Regions from separate parts of the Homo sapiens genome. Here region 2 is linked to region 1. Evidence: promoter capture Hi-C in human tissues and cell types (Jung and others, 2019). All regions are on one chromosome and are shown on one strand. The core of a region is centred on a gene start or on the middle of the fragment in contact, and the rest is flanking DNA. Distances in the headings are between cores, read along the strand shown.

Evidence for each region. The method cuts DNA at HindIII sites, captures the fragments that hold promoters and counts their contacts. A contact is called where the count stands out against the background at its distance.
Region 2: a fragment that was not itself captured here is called in contact with the fragment with the promoter of SHISA9 in region 1 in 1 of the 25 tissues and cell types used here (lymphoblastoid cells).

Annotation. Positions count from the first base shown.
Region 1 is chr16:12,900,248-12,902,947 of GRCh38, forward strand. It overlaps SHISA9 (shisa family member 9), which reads left to right and starts at 1,351. Exons shown (of 5, transcript NM_001145204.3): 1 at 1,351-2,380. The coding sequence starts at 1,818. The HindIII fragment of the contact is 6,671 bases long and covers 1-2,700 here.
Region 2 is chr16:13,957,611-13,960,310 of GRCh38, forward strand. No RefSeq gene overlaps it. Among named protein-coding and RNA genes, the nearest start is that of ERCC4, 39 kb to the left of the region's middle. RefSeq lists enhancers at 1-266, 80-199. The HindIII fragment of the contact is 3,355 bases long and covers 1-2,700 here.

The sequences.
Region 1 (2,700 bases), core at 101-2,600:
CCCACCCTTTCTCAATTCAGGGGACCCTAGTAAACCATTTTACATGTCGCCCAACTTTTCGTTCTCTGAAGATGCCCTGAGAAGCCCTTGACTGCAGCCAAGTGGAGAGGAGGGTTGTGGAAACATTATCTCCTTGCAAATCGCCTAGCAGCCTGCAAAGTGTATACTTAGTTAATGCAATTAAAAAACAAAACGCCGGGGCGTGGGGAGATCTAAATTTGGTGTAGCAGCTTTGGTGCAAATCCTGTTTTGGGGCTACTGGAGTCAAATTCAAGCAGAGGAGAGAAAGAGGTGGGAGAAATGAGAGAGGGCCTCCGGGGAGCTGGAATTCGCTAGGAGAGAGAGGGCAGATTTGGAAACACAGAGGAGACGGGAGGCTGGAAGCTGAGGAAGCAAGGCAGAGCTCTGCAGCCCCCGGTGAGGATTTCCGGGGGGATCCGTGGGGACAGGGGCCAGCCAGCTCCAGAGACCGATGCGCGGGCTCCAGGTCCGGGAGGGTGGCTGAGGCTGGGTGCCCAGGCCTTGCGCTGCGCCAGATCCGGGAGCGCAGAGGCGGCGCCGCGGTGTTCCCTCCTGTGGAGCGCAGAAAACGCTGCGGGGGCGAAGAGGGACAGAAAGCGGCAGGTTCGAGAGGCTGGGGGACTTCCAAGGAAAGACCTTCCAGGACACGCCATAGCCTCGGCCTTGTTCGGCTGTCCCCTCTTACCCCCGACCTTCTTTGATTCGTTCATCCCGAGCCCCTCTCCCCCGGAGGGTGCTTATCCCTGGCTCAGGGGCTTGCCACCTGTCCTTCCCAGCTCCGCCTGGGTCCTTGCTTGGGCCCAGAGAGTTGAGCCATGCGGGTTGCGCTCAGGGCTGGAGGGCGCAGCCGGGAAGGGCAAGGAGGCCCCGCACGCCTGGGAGGGGCGATCCTGACCAGACTGCACCCAGTCTGTCTTGGAGTGAAAGCCATTTAGTCTGTCCCCATCCTCTCCGAGTCATCCTTCCCCTGATGCACAGATTTCGGCCGCCGCTCCTGCACACGCACCGGTGAAAAAGCTACGAGCTGAGCCGCCTCTGCGCTCTGGACAGGGCTGAGCCGCGCCTCCTACCCAGAGAGGGCGCGGGAGGTCCTGCCGCGGTTTTCCACCTGCCTGGAAATCCGAGCGGCTCCTCTAGCCTCGGCTGCTGCCGAGCTCGCTCCTCCCCGTCCGCTCGCCTGGCTCAGCTCTGCACGCCCCCCAGCTAGCTCCCGCTCTAGTCACCTCTTCCCCGCGCCCCCGCCCCTCTAGAGCTCGCGCCCGCCCCCCCCCACCCGCGCCTCCTCTGCCCGCCCTCCTCCCCCTCCCCCTTCCCTCCTGCCCTCCCTTCATTCCACAAGTGTCGCTTCGCTCTCTTCAGCGCACTTGGCGAGCTGGTGAGGTGAGAGGGATACTGCGAGAGGGCTAGGGGCGGCCAGTCCGGGGCTGCCGGCCAAGGCTAGGCGCTGCCAGCCCGATTCTCCTCTGCTCTCCACCCCCGCCTCACCCAGTGGCCGGCCGGACCTGCACCCCGCGCTTGACCCCGCTCATCCTCCCCCCGCCCGGCCGGGCGCGCTCCTCCCCGGCCGGCCCCTCGGCGCGCGGCGCGCTGGAGGCGAACGCGGGCTGAGGCGAACGCGGGCTGAGCCGAGCGCAGTGGCCGCCGACCACCGAGCGCCCCGCGCCGCTCCCTGCATGTGCGGCCCGCGGCGGCTCGCAGCTCCCGGCAGCAGCCTCGGCAGCTTCGGCCGCGCCTCGAGAGGCGGCCGCAGAGGCTCCAGCGGCGGCCGAGCGGCCGAGCCCGGGCTGGGAGACACCATGCGCCGCGTCCTTCGGCTGCTCCTCGGTTGCTTCCTCACCGAGCTGTGCGCCCGCGTGTGCCGGGCGCAGGAGCGAGCGGGACACGGGCAGCTGGCGCAACTGGGCGGCGTGTTGCTGCTGGCGGGGGGCAACCGCTCCGGGGCCGCCTCCGGAGAGGCCAGCGAGGGCGCTGAGGCATCGGACGCGCCCCCGACCCGGGCGCCCACGCCGGACTTCTGCCGGGGCTACTTCGATGTCATGGGCCAGTGGGACCCGCCGTTCAACTGCAGCTCGGGCGACTTCATCTTCTGCTGCGGGACTTGTGGCTTCCGGTTCTGCTGCACGTTTAAGAAGCGGCGACTGAACCAAAGCACCTGCACCAACTACGACACGCCGCTCTGGCTCAACACCGGCAAGCCCCCCGCCCGCAAGGACGACCCCTTGCACGACCCCACCAAGGACAAGACCAACCTGATCGTCTACATCATCTGCGGGGTGGTGGCCGTCATGGTGCTCGTGGGCATCTTCACCAAGCTGGGGCTGGAGAAAGCGCACCGGCCCCAAAGGGAGCACATGTCCAGGTGGGCTGCCTCCCCTTCGCCCTCCCCTCGGGGCTTCGCTCTCCCTGCTCTCTCCTCCCCACCTTCCCCCAGGCAATGGCGCTCCCCACGGTCCCCGCTCCCCGCATCCCAGCCTCTCCGCTGGGGGATGTCACCGGGAAGCCAACTTCGGCTTGGAACACGGAGAAGGGGCGCTGGGCTCAGCACAGGTGTGGGTCTGAGCGTGTTCGTGTGTGTGTGAGCGTGTGTGTGTGTGTGTGTGACTCTGCTCCCTCACCCTCTGGCCGCCTCCTCCCGCTGGTGACTGAGGCGGACTTGAGACACGTAGCCTGGGAGCCCGT
Region 2 (2,700 bases), core at 200-2,699, 1.1 Mb after region 1:
TCACTAATAGATGGGGGTAGGGGGTAGAGTGGACAGGACTCAAGGACTTACTGAAAACTCAGCTGCCTTTTCCCTTTCCTCTTGCAAATAAATCTGTAACTCACTAACATCTGCCCTGGAGATGTGGGAGGAAGGTAGACCTCAACTCCAAGACTTGGTGCTCCCGGCCTCCATTGGTAGGGGTCCCCATTAAGTCCCACGTCCTGAACTACACTGGAGCCCTCGGACACTTTAAGGATCACTGCACTCCGAATTGGGGTGTATCTTCCTCCAATTCTTGCCTAACCATGACAGAGGAGAGACAAAAACTAGATGCCTGACTTCGAGCATGACTCATTATAAACAAATAGAGGACAGATTGACTTCCTCTTATCAGAGCCCGAGTCTGCGCCCCAGGACACAGCATGAGTCAGACTTGAAGTCCCAAGTCTTGTTGGGAATTTTCCCCCTGAGAAAGAGGTAGATTTTTGAGTAGAGTTCTGTTGATTTCTTGAATATTATCAGTGACCCCATGTTAAGCCCTGGGCTTCTGCATCAGGTCACATCCCTTCGAAACCAATAGAGCTTCCAGAGTAAGGATAAAAATTGGCTGTGCTCACAAAGAAACTCATTTGGAATTGATAGAAATGTTTGTAATTTTAGCGGTGATGGTTTTGCAATGTATAGATGTCAAAATCATAAAAGCATACACTCAATATGTGCAGTGTATTGTATATAAATTATACTTCAAATATTTTTTAGAAGAAACATAGTTTAGCAGGAAAAAAAAAGATGTAGTAGGCACCTGCATTGAAATGAGAACTGAAGACATTGGTTGAATAAGTAAGTGGTTAAGGTAAAGAAACCGTAAACGACTAACAGAATGCTAAAAATGCCTACACTTAGAAGAAGGGAAGATACAGACAGAATATTAGAAGAAGAAACTGAGTCATCCAGCAGCCAGAATGAAACAGGAGGGAATTTATAGGGAGTGACCCACAACACCAGGAGCTGAGCAGTATCAGCGTAGATAGCCTGGTGGCCTTTGACGCAACAATGAAGAGAGCACTGGTCATCCTGCGTGGTGGTTAATTATTATTATGATTTATCATGAAGTTCAGTGTTACCTCCTCCCTTCCCCATCCATACCGATCTATTGCTTGTATTTGGGTGCAAACACACACAGAGTACCTGCCTGAAGGGATCATGAGGTCACAGCATCCAATGCTGATCTCAGACTCCCAGAGTGTGTGTTAGTAGGTAACATTTATTTTTACTCAACTCCGTATTTCACTAGGTAAAAGGGAATGAAGGCAGTCGGGATAGGTGAAACCCAGGTTGTGACAAATTTGGAGGAGGGTGGGGGAGCTGTTGGGTATTAGATTGGTGCAAAAGTAATTGTGGTTATTATGCCAGGAGCGGTGGCTCACGTCTGTAATCCCAGCACTTCGGGAGGCGAGGTGGGTGGATCACTTGAGGTCAGGAGTTTGAGACCAGCCTGGCCAACATGGTGAAACCCATCTCTACTAAAAATACAGAAATTAGCCGGGCATGGTGGCCAGTGCCTGTAATCCCAGCTACCTGGGAGGCTGAGGCAGGAAAATCATTTGAACCCAGGAGGAGGAGGTTGCAGTGATCCGAGATCGCACCACTGCACTCCAGCCTGGGTAACAGAGCAAGACTCGTCTCAAAAAAAATGAAAATCAAAAAATAAATAAAACATTTTTTAAAAGTAATTGCAGTTATTGCCATTATTTTCAATGGCAAAAACCTCAATTCCTTTTTTTTTTTTTTTTTTTTTTGAGATAGAGTTTCCCTCTTGTTGCCCACACCGGAGTGCAATGGCGTAACATTGGCTCACTGCAACCTCCGCCTTCCAGGTTCAAGTGATTCCCCTGCCTCAGCCTCCTGAGTAGCTGGGATTACAGGCATGTGCCACCACACCTGACTAATTTTGTATTTCTAGTAGAGACGGGGTTTTGCCATGTTGGTCAGTCTGGTCTCGAACTCCTGACCTCAGGTGATCCACCCACTTCAGCCTCCCAAAGCACTGGCATTACAGGCATGTGCCACCGTGCCCTGTCCGCAGTTACTTTTACACCAACCTAGTAGCAAAGGAAAAAGAAGCACCTTCAAGGTACCCCACCCCAGGCGGCCACAGGACAGGAGAAGGCTGTTTTTGCCTTCAGGTTTCAGCAAATTCAAGTTGAGTCAAGCCAACAGCATGACAGCATGCAAGAGCTGTGCCATTGGGCTGTGGCCACAAAACACACACACGTGAAATGACTTAAAGCTTGGAAACCAGCACACCAGGGAGCAAATTAATTTAGGGAGAAATGAATACGTGTGTGCTTAGATGGCACAAAAGAAAGAACAAAGTCTTTCGGCAAGCCAGGTTAATCGAAGAGCAGGCAGCCATGAGGGTGGAGTGGCCCGGATTTTTTTTTTTAATGTAAATAACTTCAAGTGGGAAAATATGAACGTGTATCCATGCATGGACTTGCTTATGATCTTCTGAAAAGTACATGATCTCTCTCTATTTCAGATAAATGCCCTTAATGATGGGAAAGGAGGCTTTTCCTTCCTCTTGCTGTAGATATTCTGGAATATCTACTTCTGACTGCTAACCTTGCGGGAAAGGTCTTTCATTTTGACTGCTGACTTCATCCAAAAGGAATTAATTATTTCTTTCATTTTCCCTTCAGTCTCGGTGAGGCCAGC